2 separate regions of the Homo sapiens genome follow, and region 1 is linked to region 2. The links are contacts of gene promoters, found by promoter capture Hi-C in blood cells and fetal thymus (Javierre and others, 2016). All regions are on one chromosome and are shown on one strand. The core of a region is centred on a gene start or on the middle of the fragment in contact, and the rest is flanking DNA. Distances in the headings are between cores, read along the strand shown. Region 1 overlaps STK10 (serine/threonine kinase 10). Region 2 holds the start of DUSP1 (dual specificity phosphatase 1).

Region 1 (6,295 bases), core at 2,944-5,443, 660 kb after region 2:
TCCTGACCTCAGGTGATCTGCCTGCCTCAGCCTCCCAAAGTGCTGGGATTACAGGCATGAGCCACCGTGTCCGGTGACAATATTAGTTTTTATAAGATAAACTAGGATTATTATATATATATACAGTTTCCTAGTCTGGTTTTTAACATTGAATATCAGCGTATTCCTCCATATCCTTAAAGATTCCTCAGAAACATGATTATTTTCGTGTTTTTCTTGTACCCATCACAGGCACAAAATGTAATTTACCTATCAGAGCCCTGAGGAAAGCCCTGAATTGGATACTTGGGTTTCTCATGAGGTTTATCATCTTTACGAAATCATGCAGTGATGAGTGTGCTTGTTCATGGATCTTTGCGTCTCTTTCTGTAACATACCTTGAAGAGGAATTCTCAGAAGCAGAGTGCTGGGTGTGTGCAGTGAGTTGGGGTTTTGTTCATCCTGCAGCCGGCATGCCCTCCGTGCTGGTCATACCAGTTGACACCCCCCCCAGTGCAGTGTGCAATTCTCTTTTCACCACATCCTGGCCCCTACTGGGTTTTACTTAATAGAGAAAAAACAAAAAAACCCACAAAACCAAAAAACTTTGCTACATATGCATTTCAGTTTTTTAAACCATAGAAACAATACACTCTATCAAAAACATTTTAAAGAACAAAAGTGGGTCGGGCGCGTTGGCTCATGCCTGTAATCCTAGCACTTTGGGAGGCCGAGGCAGGTGGATCACCTGAGGTCGGGATTTTGAGACCAGCCTGACCAACATGATGAAACCCCCCGTCTCTACTAAAAATACAAAATTAGCCGGGCGTGGTGGCGCATGCCTGTAATCCCAGCTGCTTGGGAGGCTGAGGCAGGAGAATTGCTTGAACCCGGAAGGTGGAGGTTGCAGTGAGCCGAGATCGTGCCATTGCACTCCAGCCTGGGCAACAAGAATGAAACTCCATCTGAAAAAAAAAGAATAAAAGTGTGTAAAGTGAAAAATGTAGGGTCCTGGCCGGGTGCAGTGGCTCACACCTGTAATCCCAGCACTTTGGGAGGCCGAGGTGGGCGGATCATGAGGTCAGGAGATCGAGACCATCCTGGCTAACATGGTGAAACCCCGTCTCTACTAAAAAAAAAAAAATTAGCCGGGCATGGTGGCAGGTGCCTGTAGTGCCAGCTACTTGGGAGGCTGAGGCAGGAGAATGGCGTGAACCCAGGAGGTGGAGCTTGCAGTGAGCGAAGATCACACCACTGCACTCCAGCCTGGGTGACATGCGAGACTCTGTCTCAAAAAAAAAAAAAAAAAAAAAAAGTAAGGTCCCTTCTGTGCACTGCCCCCACCAAAATCCCACTTCCAGGGAGATGAACATTAAGTTTGATGTGCAGACTTCCAGACCGGTGTGTGTGTGTGTGTATGCACATGCGTGCAGACATGTACACACAAGATGCATATATTATTCCTTTAAAGATAATCTTCTACTGGAGTACCTGCACTTGGATCATTTCTGGAATCATGCTACACATTTTATAAGACTCATCAGTCAGTCAGCAACATGTTTGGGACATGTATTAATGTATTAGAGATACACTTCCAAGTTAGTCCATACAAATACAGCCTCATTCTTTTTAAGAGCTGCATGTTATTTCATAGCTGGGGTGAACCACAACTTATCTAACCATTCAGCAATGAAGCTCCAGCAACACTTTGGATGATTTCCAATTTTCCATTCTTTTTGGCTGTTGCTTTTATAAGCATCCATATATATTATAGATCTGGTTTTAGAGATGGATTTCTACAAATAGAATTGCTGGCAAACAAGTTTTTAAAACCCAGTTTTATTTTTTACATATATGAGTAAAGGCATTTTAGCAAATTCTGTCTCTTTATTTATTTATGAGCATGCTCATTCGATAAACCTGTTGAGTGCTTCCTGCTCCAGATAACGTGCCAGGGATACAACTGTGGCCACAGCAGAAATGATCTCTTTCTTTATGGAAATTACAGCGGAGAAAGGGAGATTTCCCTTATCTCCGCCGCCCTTGTCTCTAATACATTTTAAAATGGGAGGAGAAGGGGGAGTGTTTTCATCAGAAGAGACTGCATGGTGAAAATCCCTTTTGAATTGCTCAAGGGCAGCCATCAGCTATCAAGGGACACTCCCTTATAAACTCTGCGGAGGGAGCAAACAGGCTCAGTTCTCTGGGCTGCAAGGTGGGGCTGCCCCACTCTCCCATCTGGGCCCCATCGTGTGGGGCAGAAGGGGAAGTAGCAGCTACCCAAAGAGCTGGCTGGTGCGTGCCTGAGGGAGGCCCTGGGGACCTACGGTGTGTCATTGCACGTTGGTGGTTTCTGTTTCTCGTCTCTCTTCTCAGGAAGGGATCGGCAGGGCCTGTGGTCGGGGAGTGGCCACCTTTTGGGATCCTCACCCTGGGCCTGAGAGGCAGTCACTGTTCCCAAAAGGTTTCCTGGGATGGGATGATGTGCCAGCCCTTAGTGGTGTTTGCGAGGGAGCCAGGCCCACAGGGGGGCCTGGCTGACCCAGCAGGAAGGTGGGGCCAGCTTCCCATTCTTACCCTGGAGGCCCAGGGGAGCCGCCTGCCAGAGTCATCAGCAGAGCCAGGCTCTACCTGGGTTTCCTGCTTCTGCACCTCACTTGCAGCACCTGTTGGTCCCACTTCAGGAGGCTGAGGGCCCCCTGTCCCCTCTTGCTGGCCAGACTGTCCCCTGATATAGCAACTGCTGTCCAGTTAGCACTAACCGGGGCTCAGAAGCCAGCTTTCCTGACCACTCCCAGGAGGTGCCGGGGGGTCTTAGTTCAGCCTCAGCCTTGCCCCAGCCTGAAAAAGGCTGGACTGGCTCATGGGCCGGTGAAAGAATCACCATCTTCTCGCTTTTGCCACGAGTGGACCTTGCATCACAGTGCTTTGCGTTTGTCATTTAATCCTCAGGAAAACCTGCGCAATGGTTCTGTGCTATCACCCCCGTGTCACAGATGGGGAAACTGAGGCTCAGAGGCTTTGTAACTGCCCTGCCCGTCTCCTGCCTTATCTGCTTCCACCCCCGGCCCCCTCCTTCCGGCCAGGCTGTGTCCTGTCCCCGCTGGTCCCTCCAGCCTGCTGTTTCCTGCCTCCCAGTCTGTTTGCAGTTTTCTCTGCCTGGAAATACCTCCCCCAGATCCTGAGTTTGTGTCTAAAGTAGCTCCCCACCCTGCACCCCAGCACTGTGTTCTTCTCCCTGCCTTCTCAGCCCTGGGCCCTTCTCGCTGCCAGGCATTCCGGGGGTTTTGCCAGGTGCCTGTCGCCACCACGGGAATAACATGTGGCATGTCAGGCAGGACTTGGTTGCTTTCATCTCTGTGCCTAGAACAGTGTCGGGCACATAATAGATGTGCAGTTAGTGTATGCTGAATAAAACTGTCCTTCCTCCAAAGCCCCCAGCCCTCCCTCCATGACCGTCCCCTCGAGGTCACACCCCCTACTGTGCACTCTTGAGTAGCCCCGGTCCTGTCTTCCCAACACTTTCCATGTTAGGAGTAGATGTTTGTTTATTTGCTTACTCTCTGCTCCCCCAACTAAACTGTGGATTCCCCGAGGGTCCTCATTGTATTCTCTGATCCCGGCTAGTGTCTCGCTCCTGATGGAGCCTGGTGAGCACCTGAATGAATGGGTGAGTGGACAGTGAAGCAGAAGAGCAGAGGCTGGAACCAAGTTCTCCCGTATTCAGGCCCAGCCTCTTGGCATTGTGCTGCCTCCTTGTTTCACGTTGCAAGTCTGAAAGGAGCTCCTGGATACAGCTCATTTCAAGACCAGGCACTGGTGCCCGGGGTGGCCTGAAGTTGTCATAATGCTGCAGCTTCTTGGGATGAATCGTCCAAAGGCAGCCATCATCTAGCAGGGGACACCCCTCATAAATTCCATTCAGGGAGTTTCAAATGGAGCATCCCGGGTTCTCTCAAAGTGTTGTTTCATCCTGAATCTATTTTTCAGTCAAGATGAAACTTCACCACAGAAGGCAGGAGCCCTGGAGAAAATTTCTCTTGGTAGCGCTGAATTCTTCTCTTAGCAGCGGGTGTGTGAGGAAAGACTGAGAGTGTTGGAATGCATGTAAAGATACATCTTATTGGCCGGTCCTGGTGCCTCACGCCTGTAATCCTAGCACTTTCGGAGGCCAAGGCAGGAGGATTGCTTGAGCCCAGGGTTCAAGACCAGCCTGGGCAACATAGAGACTCCATCTCTACAAAAAATACAAAAATTAGCCGGGTGTGGTGGCATACACCTGTAGTCTCAGCTACTCGGGAGGATTGCTTGAGCCTGGGAGGTTGAGGCTGCAGTGAGCCATGATTGTGCCACTGCACTCCAGCTTGGGTGACAGAGTGGACTCTGTCATGAAAAAAAAAAAAAAGTGTTCATTTATTTTTGCTAGTCCTGCAAATAATACACTTTATCATAGCAAAGGTGTGGAAGTCTCACCACCCACACACAGCCATTTAAGTAGTGTGGTATATTTCCTCCAAGTCAGTTCAGTGTGTATTTTTCCCCTTTTTGGAGTGAGAGGGGCATGATTCTGACCAGACAGTATATTCAACTGTGTATCCCCCTTCTCCCCACTTAACCTTTTACAGTAATATAAATAGTAATCAGTAAGGCCGGGCGCAGTGGCTCACGCCTATAATCCCAGCACTTTGGAAGGCCAAGGCTGGTGGACCACCTGAGGTTAGGAGTTCAAGACAAGCCTGGGCAACGTGGTGAAACTCCATCTCTACTAAAAATACAAAAATTAGCTGGGCATGTCGGCACATGCCTGTAATGTCATCTACTTGGGAGGCTGAGGCACAAGAATCGCTGGAACCCGGGAGGTGGAGGTTACAGTGAGCCAAGATTGCGCCACTGCACTCCAGCCTGGGTGACAGAGCAAGACTCCATCTCAAAAAAATAATAATAAATTAATAAATAGTAATAAATACCGCCCAGGTTGGAGTGCAGTGGCACAATCCTGGCTCACTGCAGCCTCTGCCTCCTGGGTTCAAGTGATTCTCCCACCTCAGCCTCCCAAGTAATTGGGACTGCAGGGACATGCCACCACACCTGGCTAATTTTTTTTTTTTTTTTTTTTTTGAGACAGTCTCACTCTATTGCCTGGGCTGGAGCGCAGTGGTGCGATTGCAGCTCCCTGCAGCCTCCACCTCCCGGGTTCAAGCGATTTTTGTGCCTCAGCCCCCCAAGTATCTGGGATTACAGGCGTCCACCACCACACCTGGCTAATTTTTGTATTTTTAGTAGAGACTGGGTTTTGCCACGTTGGCCAGGTTGATCTCCAACTCCCAGCCTCAAGCGATCTGCCTGTTTCAGCCTCCCAAAGTACTGGGATTACAGGCGTGAGCCACCCTGCCTGGCCTCCATTTTTCTTAATCTATATAAAAAGTTTTAAAATCACTGCCTGATAGCCAAGCAATTATGGTTGTTTTCAGTGTGTCACTATTATTATAATTTTATAATGGCACTGTTATTATAATGGGATTTTGATTAACATCATTATGCATTTTTTTAAATTTAAGACTGTTTCATTAGGGCAGAGTCCTGGATTTGGAATTACTGGATTAAAATGGTATGGGTATTTTAAAGGTTCTTGCTATTTATTGCCAAATTGCTTTCCTGAAGGCTGCTGCCAGTGCAGGCTCTCGTTAGTAGAGAGGAAAGTGTTCATCTCGGTACTTCCTCTCAGCAGCAGATAGTCTTACATTTTTAATGCTTTCTAATTTGCTAGATAGAAAATGGCATCTGTTAGTCGACTTGGAATGTGTACCCCTGAGTCCACATCCCCGGCTTTTACCCCAGGGCTATGGGTGGAAAACGCTAGCTGAGATTTTGTCTTGCAGCTGACTTTGGTGTGTCTGCCAAGAATCTGAAGACTCTACAGAAACGAGATTCCTTCATCGGCACGCCTTACTGGTGAGTCGTGTAGCTTCTGGAAATGGAATGGACTGGATGTAAAAACTCTCCAAGGTGACCACCAGGCGCTTTAGACAGAGAGGGGCCGGAAGACAAGGGCTACACGCCCTGCCTCGTGGCTTACTAGCTGTGTGACCTTGGACAAGCTGTTTAGCTTTCCCGTGCGTCAGTTTCTTCATCCATAAAATTAGGGATATAATGGCCCCTACTTAATAAGGCTACTGTGAGAATGAAATGAAATGGTGCACATAGAAGGCACTCCATTAATAACTGAACTAGAATCCATAAAACAGGATTCAGTTCGTGATTTATTCGCCACGTATGTATTGAGGGCCGGGGATGGGGACCGTGAAGGTGAACAGTA
Region 2 (4,258 bases), core at 1-2,500:
CCGTCACTGGGACTCAGGGCACGGAGATCGCTGGGCGGGGCGGGGGTCTTCCCAAGTGTTGCGATCCAGGTCCTGGCAATCCGCCCACAATGGCCCGGGATTGGATTTTGCTTTCGGCCTATAACGGCCGCGACGACAGGGAGCGAGGGTTGTGGCCGGCTTCTGTTCCGGGTTGGAGGCCCCCAGCCCAGCGCTTAGTGGGCGCTCACTGTGTATACTGCCTATTTGTATAATAAAGAAAGGGATGGAGAAGCTCAGTCTGGAGCCAAGGTGACAGAAACGTGTCGGGCGGCCCCTGGGGGGCGCCGTCGAGTCGCGCTGCGGGTCGCCCCTCACCCCTCCAAACGCCAAACCCTGGAATCCACTGCGGGGCCTTGCGACCCCTCACCGGGATTTCAGCCCCCTGACCTGCCTCCCTTGGCTCCAAGTCTTCCGGGGGCCACAAGACTAGGAATAGCATTATTTCCCGGTGGGAGTTTGCTTGCTCACACTTTCATGGCAAATGTAGATATTTTAAAGCCACCTTAAAGAAAAGTCTGGGAAACAGGAAAGCATTGCCCTGAACCTCTCCGCCCCAACTCGCTCGAGTCGGTCTTGGTAGGGACGACTTTTCTATCGGCAGAGTTGTTCATTTTTCTCTAAACTTCATCTTAGGCGCCTATTTGCTGCCCCCACCCCAGTAGTGTGGTTCTGGGCAAGTCAGTCGCTTCGCCTGGGGAACCTCAGTTTCCCCGCCTGTTAGTGATGAGGAAATGAGGAAAAGGGGCACAAGAGTATGCAAAAGCACAGGAAGCCCCTTTCGGTTCAGGTCGGCGGCCGAGGGGCACGGGGAAGGGGACTCGGGGAGGGAGAGAGGGAGGAGCGGCGAGGCCAAGGCAGGTGGCACGTCGCCCGTTCTCCCGGCCGCTCGCATCCCGGAGGTCAGCCTCAGCTGGCAGCGAGCCCTCCTCCTCCCCGCTGGGCCTGGAGCGCGGCGCGGGTCCGGTCCCTGGGGACGCGCCAAGAGCAGGCCGGACAGCAGGGCGGGGGCCGGGCCGCGAGCCAGCGCGCGGCGAGCGGACCCAGCTCCGAGGCTGATGACGTCTCCCCCTCTGGCTCGGCGGCGCCTGGCCTGGCAGGGCGGGTGACGTCACCGCCCCGTCACGTGATCACCATTCAAACAAACACCCCCCCTCCCCCTGCGCGCGGGTCTGGCCCGCCCCGTCCCCCAGAGGCCGCATATAAACGCGCTCCCCGGGCCAGGCTCGCTGCGAAGGACATTTGGGCTGTGTGTGCGACGCGGGTCGGAGGGGCAGTCGGGGGAACCGCGAAGAAGCCGAGGAGCCCGGAGCCCCGCGTGACGCTCCTCTCTCAGTCCAAAAGCGGCTTTTGGTTCGGCGCAGAGAGACCCGGGGGTCTAGCTTTTCCTCGAAAAGCGCCGCCCTGCCCTTGGCCCCGAGAACAGACAAAGAGCACCGCAGGGCCGATCACGCTGGGGGCGCTGAGGCCGGCCATGGTCATGGAAGTGGGCACCCTGGACGCTGGAGGCCTGCGGGCGCTGCTGGGGGAGCGAGCGGCGCAATGCCTGCTGCTGGACTGCCGCTCCTTCTTCGCTTTCAACGCCGGCCACATCGCCGGCTCTGTCAACGTGCGCTTCAGCACCATCGTGCGGCGCCGGGCCAAGGGCGCCATGGGCCTGGAGCACATCGTGCCCAACGCCGAGCTCCGCGGCCGCCTGCTGGCCGGCGCCTACCACGCCGTGGTGTTGCTGGACGAGCGCAGCGCCGCCCTGGACGGCGCCAAGCGCGACGGCACCCTGGCCCTGGCGGCCGGCGCGCTCTGCCGCGAGGCGCGCGCCGCGCAAGTCTTCTTCCTCAAAGGTACGCCCTCGGGGAAGCTCGGGGCGGGCCGCACACCCCTGAGGTTTTGCCCGGTACCCCTGGCTCTCGGCTCCCGGGGGATCGCCCCACCTGCAGCGCGTGGGCGCTGGAGTACATTTATCTCTGGAACTTGTCATTGGCTTTGTTTGGCTCTGGAAACAAAGACTTGCCTGGGCCTTTCCGATGTAAACTTCCAGCCCTTGGTGGGTGGGGGAGTTGTATGAAGGTGCCGTGTCCCGGTGTCACTAATGGGGAAAAAAAATGTCTTTGTATTCCCAGGAGGATACGAAGCGTTTTCGGCTTCCTGCCCGGAGCTGTGCAGCAAACAGTCGACCCCCATGGGGCTCAGCCTTCCCCTGAGTACTAGCGTCCCTGACAGCGCGGAATCTGGGTGCAGTTCCTGCAGTACCCCACTCTACGATCAGGTTAGTAGGTGTCCCTGCCACAGGGAAGAAGTAAGAACTGGCAAAGGCATGGAAGAGTAGTGCCAGGGAGAATATAGAAAGTGACCTGCAGCATTATTTATAACGGAGGGGACACAGGGATATGATTTATTCCACAGTTAAGTGGTCTGACGGAGCCGAGTCTCCAATTGTAGGCTCTACGGAAATGAACTTGCTGGTCCTGCCCAGGCAAATGGGCTTAGTTCCCTATTTATTTATCCTCCAGCAACAGAACTGAGTTCACTCGGTATCTGAAATTGACTTTTCCAGCAGAAAGTTTTTGTGGGTATGGGCACTGGCCTTGGCTTTGAGCAAGCTTGATGAATGTTGGATATTTCTGGATTTCAGGGTGGCCCGGTGGAAATCCTGCCCTTTCTGTACCTGGGCAGTGCGTATCACGCTTCCCGCAAGGACATGCTGGATGCCTTGGGCATCACTGCCTTGATCAACGTCTCAGCCAATTGTCCCAACCATTTTGAGGGTCACTACCAGTACAAGAGCATCCCTGTGGAGGACAACCACAAGGCAGACATCAGCTCCTGGTTCAACGAGGCCATTGACTTCATAGGTAAATGGAATGGATGCCTGGGGCTTTTCTGCCTTTCTCTTCTCATTTTAGCCACTAAGCCCAACCTCTGTGGCAAGAGCTTGAAGTTTTCTGAGCCTTCTTCCACACATTCAGTATCAGTCTGGTGTGGGCAACATTCCTGTAAAATATGAATTTGATTCGATGTCCCACTTTACAGATTTGCAAAGTGGGGCTCACAAAGTTGAATTGACTGGTCTGAGATCTATCTGCTAAGTGGAAATCCCCAGTCTGAGTTTAAATCCTGTGCCATCCTTTGCACAGTGCCCACGTTGCCTCCATGAACAGTATCCATGTGATGGCATGTGGTGATGTTGACCATTTCTAGACAAGACACACATGACCTTTCTCAGATACACTGTACCTGGGCTTGGGGTGGTTCTCCTGAACTCTCAAGTAACCAGCCGCTCCTTTGGTTTTCCAGACTCCATCAAGAATGCTGGAGGAAGGGTGTTTGTCCACTGCCAGGCAGGCATTTCCCGGTCAGCCACCATCTGCCTTGCTTACCTTATGAGGACTAATCGAGTCAAGCTGGACGAGGCCTTTGAGTTTGTGAAGCAGAGGCGAAGCATCATCTCTCCCAACTTCAGCTTCATGGGCCAGCTGCTGCAGTTTGAGTCCCAGGTGCTGGCTCCGCACTGTTCGGCAGAGGCTGGGAGCCCCGCCATGGCTGTGCTCGACCGAGGCACCTCCACCACCACCGTGTTCAACTTCCCCGTCTCCATCCCTGTCCACTCCACGAACAGTGCGCTGAGCTACCTTCAGAGCCCCATTACGACCTCTCCCAGCTGCTGAAAGGCCACGGGAGGTGAGGCTCTTCACATCCCATTGGGACTCCATGCTCCTTGAGAGGAGAAATGCAATAACTCTGGGAGGGGCTCGAGAGGGCTGGTCCTTATTTATTTAACTTCACCCGAGTTCCTCTGGGTTTCTAAGCAGTTATGGTGATGACTTAGCGTCAAGACATTTGCTGAACTCAGCACATTCGGGACCAATATATAGTGGGTACATCAAGTCCATCTGACAAAATGGGGCAGAAGAGAAAGGACTCAGTGTGTGATCCGGTTTCTTTTTGCTCGCCCCTGTTTTTTGTAGAATCTCTTCATGCTTGACATACCTACCAGTATTATTCCCGACGACACATATACATATGAGAATATACCTTATTTATTTTTGTGTAGGTGTCTGCCTTCACAAATGTCATTGTCTACTCCTAGAAGAACCAAATACCTCAATTTTTGTTTTTGAGTACTGTACTATCCTGTAAATATATCTTAAGCAGGTTTGTTTTCAGCACTGATGGAAAATACCAGTGTTGGGTTTTTTTTTAGTTGCCAACAGTTGTATGTTTGCTGATTATTTATGACCTG

Evidence for each region. Contacts are between HindIII fragments. The CHiCAGO score rates a contact against its expected background, and 5 or more counts as called.
Region 1: a fragment that was not itself captured here is called in contact with the fragment with the promoter of DUSP1 in region 2 in 1 of 17 cell types (naive CD8 T cells); the score reaches 6.0 in naive CD8 T cells.

What each region holds. Positions count from the first base shown.
Region 1 is chr5:172,107,416-172,113,710 of GRCh38, reverse strand. STK10 (serine/threonine kinase 10) reads left to right here. Exons shown (of 19, transcript NM_005990.4): 5 at 5,859-5,931. Among named protein-coding and RNA genes, the nearest start is that of STK10, 78 kb to the left of the region's middle. RefSeq lists an enhancer at 2,154-2,623. The HindIII fragment of the contact is 9,126 bases long and covers 1-6,295 here.
Region 2 is chr5:172,768,187-172,772,444 of GRCh38, reverse strand. DUSP1 (dual specificity phosphatase 1) reads left to right here and starts at 1,250. Exons shown (of 4, transcript NM_004417.4): 1 at 1,250-1,859; 2 at 2,139-2,284; 3 at 2,651-2,870; 4 at 3,313-4,258. The coding sequence starts at 1,493. The coding sequence ends at 3,683. It overlaps LOC105377730 (a long non-coding RNA gene), which reads right to left and starts at 234. Exons shown (of 3, transcript NR_188285.1): 1 at 1-234. RefSeq lists enhancers at 1-202, 1-239, 1-775, 240-1,001, 1,423-1,692 and 1 more and silencers at 803-1,252, 1,793-1,902. The HindIII fragment of the contact is 7,766 bases long and covers 1-2,620 here.